Linked DNA regions of Homo sapiens: region 2 is linked to region 1. Evidence: promoter capture Hi-C in 16 types of primary human blood cells and fetal thymus (Javierre and others, 2016). All regions are on one chromosome and are shown on one strand. The core of a region is centred on a gene start or on the middle of the fragment in contact, and the rest is flanking DNA. Distances in the headings are between cores, read along the strand shown.

Evidence for each region. The method cuts DNA at HindIII sites, captures the fragments that hold promoters and counts their contacts. A CHiCAGO score of 5 or more calls a contact.
Region 2: a contact is called between the fragment with the promoter of OR51V1 here and the fragment with the promoter of TRIM22 in region 1, in 2 of 17 cell types (M1 macrophages and M2 macrophages). The highest score is 5.9, in M1 macrophages.

Annotation. Positions count from the first base shown.
Region 1 is chr11:5,688,364-5,695,127 of GRCh38, forward strand. TRIM22 (tripartite motif containing 22) reads left to right here and starts at 1,427. Exons shown (of 8, transcript NM_006074.5): 1 at 1,427-1,536. It overlaps LOC124902620 (a long non-coding RNA gene), which reads right to left and starts at 4,391. Exons shown (of 2, transcript XR_007062561.1): 1 at 2,315-4,391; 2 at 1,864-1,933. RefSeq lists enhancers at 1,107-2,099, 1,221-1,560, 1,532-2,731, 2,147-2,246. The HindIII fragment of the contact is 4,665 bases long and covers 1-2,432 here.
Region 2 is chr11:5,196,844-5,203,336 of GRCh38, forward strand. It overlaps OR51V1 (olfactory receptor family 51 subfamily V member 1), which reads right to left and starts at 3,839. Exons shown (of 1, transcript NM_001004760.3): 1 at 2,892-3,839. The coding sequence starts at 3,839. The coding sequence ends at 2,892. The HindIII fragment of the contact is 3,813 bases long and covers 902-4,714 here.

The DNA.
Region 1 (6,764 bases), core at 177-2,676:
GCCAGGATTAGCTTATTATTCTGTGAGCAACAAATAATACCAAAATATCTATTATTGAAATAATAAACATTGATTTCTCAGTCATCCTACATGTGTATCATTGATTAAAGTATGAAGATGGCCATGCTCCATAGTGTCAGTCAGGGATCCATGTTATGGAAGCTCCATGAGTTGCCTTTTTTTTTCTTTTTTTTTGGGTGTGTGTGTGTATGTGTTGTGTGGTGTTTGTTTGTTTGTTTTTTGTAGAGACAGGGTCTTACTATGTCACCCAGGCTGCAGTGCTATGGTGCAATGACGCAATCTTGGCTCAATGCAACCTCCACCTCCTGGGCTCAAGCCATCCTCCCATCTCAGTTTCCTGAGTAGCTGGGACTACAGGTGCACATCACCACACCCAGCTATTTTTTTTTTTTTAATTTTTCTTAGAGATGGGATTTCACCATGTTGCCCAGGCTGGTGTTGAAGTCCTGGACTCAAGTGATCCACCCACCTGGGCCTCCCAGAGTGCTGGGATTACAGGCATGAGACACCACAGGCCTCCATCAGTTTTTGATGGCATTATCTGGCACATGCAGTTAAACAAGAATACAATAGACAACAGGGTACAGAAGTATGTGCATGACGTATAACATGTTTCAGTGCTGCTTTTTAATTGATTGTGTAAAAATGACCAAACTTTTCTTAGAGAAGCAGGGAAAAGTGGAAAAATTATGAAGGCATGAGAGTAACTCAATGAATGATTATAATTAAACAGCATCATCTGTTAACTTCCATGTTCTCACCTGCCTCAGTGGCTGGGTAACATGACACTGACACAGTTTTACCTCTATTACTCTCTGGAATCCATCCTCATCTGGTCTGTCTGGATTAGGAGCAGGAAGTGATAATTAATTGATGGACTCTTAAGATTTAATGACATTTTGAGAACATTTTTTTCAATGGGCTCACACTAAAGATCCTTTTATTTATAAAAATAATTTTTTTACCATTCACAATGTCAGCTGCTAATACTCATCTTGTCAGCCCAAATTTGTAGAGCTTTATAACTGAGTATCTTCCTCGTCAGACTGCATTTCAAGAAGCTAGGTCCCAAGTCTCTGGATCTTTATTTTCCTGGCTTAGGTCTTAAATATAAGATAAATTCGACTAATAATTATAGGACTGCATTGGAATTCTAAGTATTCAGGCAAGCTGTATAACTGTAATTCACATTCTTTTTATTCAAATATTCTTGCTTGAGTAAACCACAGTAAGAATAAGGAAGTAGTGACTGAGTGCCTTGCCAGTACAGCAGATGCTAGAACATAATGTAGCATTACTTTCCCCAGGGTTTATTGTTATGTAAGTTCTTGTTCAGCTTCCTTTGTTTTCTTTCACTTCTGAGAATTTAACTTTCGTTTCTCACTCAGCTCCTGTGGGGAAACTCATTTGTGGAGACCAGCCCTCTGGCTTGGTGAGTGAATCTGGTTTACACCGGCTCCTGCCCTGCCTTCACTCTTCTCCCCTGATTCAAGACTCCTCTGCTTTGGACTGAAGGTGAGTGGAGCAATCTGTGGGAGCATAGAATGGGAGGCTTTGAGAAGAATAGATTGATTGTGTCTGGGTGAGTTTAATTTGTAGTTCTGAAGCTGCTCTGCATAAACAAAAAGAGGCAGCTTGTGAACTGTCTGCTGAGATGGCAGAGGAAGAAAGCACTGAGTCTGGGAGAGGGGTAACCTTTAAAGAAGAGAGGTTTGCAAAAGCAAAAAGCCTTGCTTGTTTCCTAGAGGGACCATTCATTTCTTCAATCTAGGTACCTCCATCACCTTCCTTGTTGGAAATAAAGCTCAGAATCTTAAGGGAGACGAGCACTCAAACAAAGGATTTCTCAGCAAAGCAATTTTATTTCTGTGCAGAGGGGTGCTTCTTCTTTGCCAGTCGCCATGAGAGCACACTAGAACAAAGGAGGAAGAAAGTTTTTATTCCTGACGCAAATCCTACCCCTTTGCCCTTTCCCCATTGGCTGGAGTCGGCCACACAATCTAAACTAGACTCAGTTGGCTAAACATTTTAACTTTCTTTAGATAAGGTGGGCACGTGAGGGAGAGAGGGGAGATGGGGAAGGGGTGTGTGTGATGAGCTAGATAACTAATCTTCTTCCAAAATAAGGAAAGGAATGTGAGTTGGTACTGATAACGCCTGGTACTGTGACATGTCTAGGCATGTAGCAAAAGCAGAAAGGAAAGAGAAGAGAAGAAAAGTGAAGTGGGGAGGGGCACTGTGAATTAAAGAATAAAGGATTGATCAGGCTATTTGAAGAGAAACCTTATCATACCCCACATTCCTATTCTGTCATTTTGATTTTTCCATTTTGCCAACGTGGATCAGAATTTTCTTTTATTCAGAGGCAGCAAATTCCTTCCTCCTTTCTCCCGAAGAAGCCTGTGCAATGAAGCTTTGTTTTCACTTTTCATAAAGCAACCTCATGATGAGGTTCAGCAGGGATGAGAGCCCTTATCTGGATCTGGGTATGAGGCGAAGGAGTCTTAGGTACTCAGTCTTCAGAAGTAAGGCCCTTTTGAAGGTTATCCTTTTACTTGCCTTCTGGTAACTTTTTGGATGCTGTCCATAGCTTTCCTGATAAATTAGCAGCCCTCTGGTTAGTCCGAGGAGAGAGGCCGCAGGACGGGCAGACTGCTGCTCATCTCTGCAGCTCCACTTTGGTCTCTTGTCTCTGAAGGTCCAGTCACAGGGAACTTGTTCTTCTGAGTACCCACAGCTTACTCTTCCTTTGTAGCAGGACCAGCCACAGAAAAAACTCCTCAGACACCGAGGTAAAGAAGGAAGGGGTTTATTCGGCCAGGGGCATAGGCAAGACTCCTGTCTCAAGAGCCGAGCTCCTCGAGTGAGCAATTCCTGTCCCTTTTAAGGGCTCACAACTCTAAGGGGGTCCGCGTGAGAGGGTCGTGATCGATTGAGCAAGCAGGGGGTACGTGACTGGGGGCTGCATACACCGGTAATTAGATCGGAACAAAACAGAGTAGGGATTTTCACAGTGCTTTTCTATACAATGTCTGGAATCTATAGATAACAAACCAATTAGGTCAGGGGTCCATCTTTAACTACCAGGTCCAGGGTGTGGCCCCGGGCTGTCTGCTTGTGGATTTCATTTCTGCCTTTTAGTTTTTACTTTTTCTTTCTTTGGAGGCAGAAATTGGGCATAAGACAATATGAGAGGTGGTCTCCTCCCTCAACTTCTGTAGCACCCAATGAACCTCTGGTATCCACTCCTGTTTTAGAAGTTGCTATTATTCTAGGTACACCTTTTCATCATGAGTTACCTCAACTCCCTACTCAATTTTCCCTTGCACAGAGCTAAGGCAAGGAGTTGGTAATTTCTCCTGAGTCTTATCTCGATCTTATCGCTGAGCATTTTGTACCTTGATGCCTATGTCACCCATATTCTGATGTGTCCTTTTCTTTGTTTCACTTTTCAGAGGTCCAGGTAACTGTCTCCTTATGTGTCTGTACCGCACATCTTGTCAAGGTCCATATCTAGTATTTATTCATTGTCAAGTCTAGTACAGGACCCAATAAATAAAACTGTACTTTTAATTTTTGAAAAATATTTTTGACTAAATTCACAAAACAAAAGCATACAGGTATAGTAAAAAAACAAAAACAAAAACAAAAAAACTATCTATTCGATATATAATCAACATTAAATACCGGTAAGAGATTATGCTCTGGACTAGGGAAAAGGAAGTAAACACGCAGTCAAAAAAAGGAAGTAAACCAGCAGTTTTAATGTAGCAAAAAGGTAGCAGTTACTAGAGGATAAATGTAAAACCAATAAAACAAAAGCAACAAACTAAAAGGGCTGCAATAGGATGTGGTATCTGTAGTGCTCTTGTCAAGGGCTTTGCAACTTTAAATAGATTTCACATTAGGTCTCACTGTGAGACAATGATTTTGAGCAGTCTTCAATAAAATGATGGATTTAAGAACTGATGAACTAACTGTGAGAGAAAGAGATGACACTGGGGTAGCTTTATGAAATCTGTCCTCTGTTACAAAATGACTTATCTGAAACATATTGACCAGAGAGTTAGAACTCTTGGAAAAAGGGTCATTACTTGGGGAAAACTAAACCCTGGACATTTTAGTGGGTCATTGAAAAAGGAACTCTGAGTTTAGACAAATAAGAAGTGGTAACGGTGTTTCTGAGTTCTCCAGGTTTCTGCATGCCAAGAACAGGACCTATTTTCTCCATTGGTAGTTCCTGACCCAAGGAACAGGGGAAATTTAAAAGATGTTGGCTAGGCCAGGCACCTGGTGGCTTGTGCCAAAGCCTAGCCAAAAATCCCAGCACTTTGGGAAGCCAAGACTGGAGGACTGCTTGAGTTGAGGAGTTTGAGACCAGCCTGGGCAACGCAGTGAGACCTTGTCTCAAAAAAAAAAAAAAAAGATATTGATGGCTAAACCCCTTATAATTTTTCTCCTTATTGTGTAGCCACACTAATTTAATTTAATCTTTTTTTTTTTTTTTCTTTTGACGGAGTCTTGCTCTGTTGCCAGGCTGGAGTGCAGTGGTGTGATCTCAGCTCACTGCAACCTCCGCCTCCTGGGTTCAAGTGATTCTCCTGCCTCAGCCTCCAGAGTAGCGGGGACTACAAGCAACTGCTGTCACACCTGGCTAATGTTTGTATATATATATATTTTTTAGTAGATACGGGGTCTCACCATAGTGGCCAGGCTGGCCTCAAACTCCTGACCTCAGGTAATCTGCCCGCCTCGGCCCCCCAAACTGCTGGGATTACAGGCTTGAGCCACAGCGCCTGGCCATCTTTTTTTTTTTTTTTTTTTTGATTTAAATTGCACAGATAAAGAAAGCTTCTGTGCAGGTAATCAGAGTATTCTGAAACAAGGAAGCTACGGACCTAGTTAGCCTTCACCGTGTCATAGAAACTTCTACATTCGCACCACCTTCAAAGGGGAGCATGCATTTTGTTTATGTGTCTGTCTGTCTACCTGTCTTAGGTCGGAAGGGTTTCAATGGGGCTACATTTCTTCAATGTTAGAATAAAGAATGAATAGGCCGGGCGCGGTGGCTCACGCCAGTAATCCCAGCACTTTGGGAGGCCGAGGCGGGCAGATCATGAGGTCCGGAGATCGAGACCATCCTGGCTAACACAGTGAAACCCCGTCTCTACTAAAAAGACACCAAAAAATCACCCGGGTGTGGTGGCGGGCGCCTGTAGTCCCAGCTACTTGGAGGCTGAGGCAGGAGAATGGCGTGAACCCGAGAGGCGGAGCTGGCAAGGAGCCGAGATCGCACCACTGCACTCCAGCCTGGGTGACAGAGTGAGACTCCGTCTCAAAAAAAAAAAAAAAAAAAAAAGAATGAATAAATCAAGAAAAATAAGCACTTGTATTAGTTTTCTAGAGCTGTCATAGAAAAAGTACCAAAAGTGGTTGGCTTAAATAGCAGAAATATATTGCCTTACAATTCTGGAGGCTAGTTATCCAAGATAAAATGTGTTGACAGGGCTGGTTCCTTCTGAAGGCTATGAAGGAGGCCTCTGGTCCATGCCTCTCTTCTAGCTTCTAATAGTTTCCTGGAAACCTTTAGCATTCCTTGGCTTATAGGTGCATCACCCTGATCTCTGCTTTCTTCTTCACCCTGGCATATTCCTTGTGTATAAATGTCCCTTTTTGATAAGGACACAGTCATGTTGGATAAGGGTCTACCCTAATGAGCACATGGTAACTAAATAGTATTTAAATATACTAGTTTCAAATAAGAGCACATTCACACATTAGGATTTCAACATCATTTGGGGAGAAACAGGACAGACTTTATCTCTCTGCTACATATTCTCAATGTACTTGGCCTCCTTTATGGATTGAGACTTTTCTCCCATGACCAACAGATGTTTCTTTGAAATGTATATTGAGTCTATATCATGTGTGTGATCCTATAACTATTTTAGCCTCTTTTCCTCTTCCCAAAATATATACATCTTTAGGTTCCTATCACCATCCTTGCCATATGTCCAGGCCAAGGTGAAATTTCAACATTTAAAACCACAGCATGCCCCAGAACTACATAGCTGGTCTGGATCTCTCCATTTCTATACCCCCAATAGCACTGGGTATCAGTATAGCTCTTGTAGCCTTTACCTTTGTTGTCTGTATAAATCTGTGCTGCAGTGGAGAGAACTCTGAAGGAGGACCTTGGGGACAATACATTCACTCTTACTCTACCTATTAGATTAGAATGAGTGATCTTTGTAAGTCACTTGATTCTATTGACACACCTGAAGAAAGGGAGTATTCTTATTTCTCAAGGGTTTTGTATGAAGAATAAAGAAGTCAAAATGATTTCTAAATTGTAACTGCTTATAAAATTGTTCATGATAAAATTATTTTCCTATTATGGTGTTGGTGGTGGTGGTGTGTGGGTGTGTGTGTATGTCTTTGGGGATGGAGTGTGAGGTCATGGGAGGACTTGCTATGGGTAGATGTGTTAGGATGTAAACACTTCTTCACTGGAAACCATAATTGTGGTCCCAAAGGTCAGCTATTGGGAAACTGCTAATTGATGGAAAGAAAAGATGAAAATCTGATTAAAAGGTCTAATCATCTATGGAGGGATAAGGAAGTTGTGGCTTTATATATTCGTTAAATGTTTTATTCCTGTATGTGATTCACTTTTCTAGGTATAGAGGACATATCAGTGAACAAAAAAAGTCCCAGGTCTATGAATGGATTACTTTTCAGGA
Region 2 (6,493 bases), core at 2,589-5,088, 490 kb before region 1:
GTGACGCTGGATAGTAGCCTTGCAGGCCTTACAAAGGAATCTGATAACTGCTTCTCACTGGCTCTGCAGGCTACCACATCAACAACAGTTTCAGCTGTTGTTGCCTAATTCATGGAAAACAAGTTTCCTTAGAAGCTGGCTTTTTGAGATATATGGAAAAATGTCTCCACCTGGCTACTATGTAGCTTTTCAAAACAGACAGTGTTTTAAACACCTGTGATGTCTCCATCTGCTCTTCCTTTCAGGACCTGGGCTGATGTCTCTGAAATTGCCTTTTCTTCCTCAGGAGAGGTTTAGTTATTTTTTTAAGTAATTGCTTCCAGATAGAGGCCTTTGCAAAACAAACAATCTAAACTACTAATGTTCTAAACCTGTTTCTTTCTGTATAAAGCCCAGTAATCATATAAAGTTTACTTTCATTGGCTTTTTTTTTTTTTTTTTACTGATTTTCCTCCCTTTGGCTGAATTGTAAAGATTCTGAAGTTCTTCATAAATCTTATCATCATAGTACAATTATATAGCTCTAAAATAAGCAATGATTTCTGAGGATACTCTTAGGTATTTTTTATTAACTGTTTTGTCACGGCCATTATTTCAAACTATTTTGGTTCACATTCTATAGGTTGCCTAATCTGAAGCACAAACACTCATAGTATGAAGTCTTCAGATGAGCCTTCCTACTCTCCCTGTTAAACATAACTCTCAAACCAACAACTCAGTTGTGTCAGACATGTAATATTGTTCAAATAATAAATATAAATTCATTCTGATGCTTCCCTATGAGTGGCTGGTGGAAAACATATTGTCAGTTGTTGAAGAATTCTCTGCTTCCCCAGTGTTGTGTCAGCTCTCCGGCGTATGGGAGGGTGGATGCTTATTCACTTTCAAAGCATTAGAAGGAAGCTTCTTTGGCCATTGAGAAATCTATGAGACATTCACATGACCTCTACAGATTCAGCAGCTAACTTCTCTTTTCATTATAAAACTGGGGCATAGGAATCTTGTCAGATTGGCCACATTCCAGTCGGCCAGGAGGGACCATGCAGACATTTATTATCATTAGGGAACCTGGAGCAGTACTACCACCTGACATTCATATCAACTTTTCTTTTTTTTTCTCTTTTTTTTTTTTTTTTTGAGACAGAGTCTCTCTCTGTCGCCCAGGCTGGAGTGCAGTGGCGTGATCTCGACTCACTGCAAGCTCCACCTCCCGGGTTCACGCCATTCTCCTGTCTCAGCCTCCCGAGTACCTGGGACTACAGGTGCCCGCCACCACGCCTGGATACTTTCTTGTGTTTTTTTAGTAGAGACGGGGTTTCACCATTGCTGGCCAGGATGGTCTCGATCTCCTGACCTCATGATCCGCCCGCCTCGGCAGCTACTATGATTATATAGTAAAAAATATATATATTGACATTTTCCCCTCTAGAACCTACCTCACAGTTTTCACTTCTGATAGCTATACCAGAAGATGCACTAGATCCTCTTTGACATCAGGAAATTCACTCCTTTATCCTTCAAATTAACCTTATACTGTAACCCAGAAGACCTAATTTATTGTTCTAGGAATAATTTTACACTTATCTTTCTAACCAGATACTTTACTCTGTCCAGAAACAATTTCCTCACTTTGAGGCTTAAGCTATTAGAAACCAAAGCCTGTATTTTTGTTTCCCTCTGAGTCAAATAAGTAGACAGAGGCTATGTTATTGAATGAAGTCCAAAGTGAAAGGAAAGGAAGGCATAATTACAGGAAGACAAATCTGGTTGTTTTAGTTGATATCTAAAAATAAAAATAAATATTTGCTTTTTGGTGTAAAATGACTCTTATGCATTAATTTGTCCAATTTTAACACTTACCTTCTTAGATACCTAATAGAATATAGGAAGATTAAAACAATTATTTTCTTGTTATCCATGCATAGTTTTGTACCTGATTTCCTTCCTTTCTTTCCTTCTTTGGAAAGCTGCACTAGCTTACTTAGAAAAGAACCGCTTTATGTTCTTTTATCTTTTTTCTTTTAAACTCAGAATAAGTCGGTAGCGGACAGTCTCATCTGTTCAGAAGATCCCCCACTTAGATATAAAAGCAAAAGATCTAGAGCAAAATCTGCTTCCAGCCTTGTAGCAGTGGAGTCCACATATAAAATCTAAAAAATAAGGATTCTAATTTAAATTAGACATGGTAGAAGTTGAATCCAAAGTCATATTTCTTTGTGTCCTCTTTATGAACTGTAGCTTCCCTGTCCAATATAGTGGCTGCTGAACTGAACTGTCCAATACAAGGACATTAAACATTTAAATATAAATTAACTTAAAGTAACTGAAATTGTAAATGCAGTTGTTCAATTACACTACCATCATTTCAAGCGCACAGGAGCCATATATTCCACTTTAGCCATTTTATGGTATTTTATAGAACATCGCCATCAGTTTAGAAAAGTTCCCTTGGACAATTCTGGTCCATACAGATATCACAACATTCCTGTGAGTTGGCTATAGTCTCCATTTTGAAGGTTAATTAAGTAAACCTCAGAGAATGAAAGAAACTTCAAGTTTTCTACTTTGAAACTTGAAAACCTAGGTTTTTAATCCAGCTTTGTTTTACAGCAAAGGAAATGCTCAAAAGTACATTTCAGGCAAATAAACAATTTTTTCCTCTTTCTTAAATATGGTCAGACTGATAGAGTGACCTACATGTGTCCAGGCTGACACAATGGAACTTGTTTGTTGATTCTCTGACTATATTTAAATATTTTTTAAGGTCATTTGTCATGGACTCAGAGTAAATCTACAATTTTAATAATTTTTTCTTTTTTATGGCACTGATTTTTGTTTATTATTGTTGCTGCTTTTCTTTCTTTTTTTTAGGCAATACATCTCAATATCTCTCAATATCTTTTCAGAGAAAAGAGTCTAAGCATTCTGGTATGAATCTGTTGGGTCTTGACACTGTAGATGATGGGATTCATTAAAGGTGGGAAAAGGATGTAGATGTTGCCAATGAGAACGTGGGCCACGGGGGAAAGGTGCTTGCCAAAACGGTGCACCATTGTGAGGCTAATGATAGGGATGTAGAACACAAGGACAGCACAGATGTGGGAGATGCAGGTCTGAAATAATTTATGCCTCTCTTCCTGAGAGGCAACTGCCAGGACTGACTTAAGAATCAGGATGTAGGAGAAAAGGATGAGTATAGCATCCAACAACAGTATGCAAATAACCAGCATCAGGGCATAGTAACTATTGAATCGGATGTCTGAACAGGCTAAGCGGAGAAGATCCTGGTGCAGGCAGAAAGAGTGAGAAAGGATGTGGAAATGACAGTAATTAAAAAATTTCAGACAGATGATGGGGGGTGTAATAAAGAAAAAACTCCTACCTATTATAGTGAGCCCAATTTTGATAATTCTGGAATTAGTCAGGATGGAGGAATAACGTAGTGGATTGCAAATTGCAATGTACCGGTCAAAGGCCATAGTGAGGAGGACAGAGGACTCCATGAAGGACAGACCATGGATGAAATAGGACTGGGCAATGCAGGAATCCAAGCTGATCTCTCGAATGATCCCCCACAGGATCCCCAGCACTGTGTACACAGTGGACAGCCCCATGCACAGGTCAGTGAGGGCCAGCATGGACAGGAAGTAAAACATAGGCTGGTGCAGGCTTGGCTCAGTCCATATCACATGGAGAACCATGCAATTGCCCAAAAGCACCATGGCATAGATTGAGGAGAAGGGGATGGAAAGCCAGGGGTATTGCTGCTCCATGCCAGAAAATCCAGTGAGAAGAAAGGAAGAATTCGTGCTGGTGCTAGGGCTTACTGAAGTAATCATTCTGGAACTGAGAAACATGTGAGAGTATTTTTTCAAAGGAAATGTTTCAATTTCACCTGAATACAATGAAATTTCTAAGTAAATGAAATACCCTAAAACTTACTGACTTAAAAAAAACAGCTGAGAAATTCTGTTTCTTTGAGACATAGTATCCATTGCCTTTGAGAAAATGGTCTTCTTTTGATGTCATTTAAAAGTCATTATTTTTTCACTGTCTGGATGTGAACATATCCTTAGAAGCCATAAGCAAAAACAAATAAGGAAGAGATTAGTAAAAGGAGAAGGCTAGTTTTAAAAAAATACGTTGCTTAGACATTTTCCCAAGGATAGTGGTAAAAATTTTATACCAGTAAAGAGCCGAGGTTCTTGAAAAATTATTTTCTTCTCTCCAATTCATTAAACATTCGAAGTGAAGAGTAATCTTTGGGCTTTAAATATCATAAGTCTATTAAATAGTCACTTTTCCGTCATTTTCCATTTTGTGCCGTCTCCAAGTATATTTTTTCTCCAAATACTATTTAATGAAGATACTCCTGTTTTCTCCCCCTCCAGATGACGTAGCCAGCAATTACTTTTTCTTCATTGGTGATAAGCAGACAGGAATATTTATGCATGAGACCTTGGGTAAATGATTTCTCACTGGAGCTCTGGCCTCTTGAGATGTTCAACTCATTTGTGCCTTTGTGATGTAGAGAATTAGATTGAAGACACTGAGCCTTTGATAGCAGCTCAGTGCTTCCCATTCCTTTATTTATTCAGTTAATGAGCTGATTAACTATTTATTCAATATACATTTATTCAATGTATTGGCCAATTGTGTTTTCTTTCTTAGAACCTGCAGTTCTACAGATCACAAAGCCAGGCTCAAACAAGCAAGCTTATAATTTCAAAAGCCTCATGGTAGCAGAATCAATTGGCTTCTTCTTTACATTGTTTGCCTGCTTTAAGTTCCAGACCTGAGAATCATCATAAGTTTTTTTAAAGCTCTAATAATGTAAACAGATGTTCAAAAGTCCATACTTTCATGTTTGATTGAGTAACTTCGAGATGTTAAAGTAACTTCAGATTTGGGCTGCCCTTTATGTCCTACTTTTCAGCTTTGTCTTATTAGCCTCACAACACAGTTCCACAGACTTTCTTCTCAATGTACTCTCTATACTACACTGACGTCTTCTAGCAGTCTAACCATTGTTTTTCTTGCCCTGACTCCTTCTCAGCATTGAATAACTTAGCTCACTATTTTTAATACTTTTTTCTCCATAGAATGCTTGAAGTTTCTTCGTTTCTTGCAGAGGATTTTTCAGTCTTTTGAATACGTATCTTCTTTCATTTCTCTAAATCGAATTTCTCTTCTTTCGTAAAATTTTTCTCGAAATGTTCTATCTGCCTAAATTATTCATCATCTTTTCCTCAATTTCTTCCTACCCTTTTTAAAACGATCTTGCAACTCAACAATCACTTTTCAAGAAGTTTCTTAAGACAAATTTATCCATATATCTATTATTTTGGTATCATGTTTCAATTTTAAATAAAACTTATAATTTTGTATTTATTAGCTAAATATTTAACTAATATTTAAACTAAATATTTAACTAATATCTCTGTTACAAACTAAATTCTCAGTTCCTTAATGTGCAGACTATGTCAACTTTTTCTTATTATTTGAAACTAACATTTGCACCTCTGATTCCTGACCACTCCTGAGAGCTCAAATTCATGAATACAACTGGCTATTTAATATATTCATCTGAGTGTTTAATCTTAAAATAAGAATGATGCCAATAAAGTACTTGATTTTCCCCCCAAAATCTATTTTCTGTCCCTTTTCTCCTAATATTATAAAGTGACTCCACCAATAACACAATTGCATAAGACAAGTCTTGAGTCATTTTTAAAATTTTTTATTTCTCTCTTTCCTTCCCTTTCCTCTCTCCATCAAATCTTTCATCAATTTCTACCATTTCTACCAGAAACACATCCCAGATAGGCCCACTTTTACACATTGCCCGTCTTGGTTTATAATATCATTGTTTCCCTGGCTACTATGATAATTTATTAAATTAATAATAATTTAATATTATTACTAGCTAATATCATGATTTATCTGTTTGTCCTCTAAAAAATGTATTATCTCCAGGGAAACCAAATTGCTTTTCTACAAACATCTACTAAATCACACAAACCTTTGTTGAAAAAACTCTTTGATGGTCACTTACCCATTGCTCGTAATGTAAAATACAAATTCTTTATCATAGTCAAAAAGCCTTGTATAACGTGGCTCACCTGCCTCTTCTATTACATCTTTAGACCACTACTGCCTACACTCCTTAATATTTAGGTATCTTTATCTTCCTCAAAACAAGCTAAGTACATGCATGTCTCAGGATCTTTGCCCATGGTCTTCTCTGTGCTCCGAATTATCTACCCCAAGTATTTGCACAGCAATTCCTTTCACCATTAACTTTTGAGTTAAAATGATTACTTCCTCAGGGGGATTTTTCTAATACTGCTCCCCACCTAGATTATCTCATTTCTTCAACCCCCTTAACTAACTTACTCTCATCACAGTATACTAGTTTATATTTATACCACTTATTATACACTGAATTTCCATTAGATTCATTAGAGGCTGTAGAAGATTAGGAACCATATCT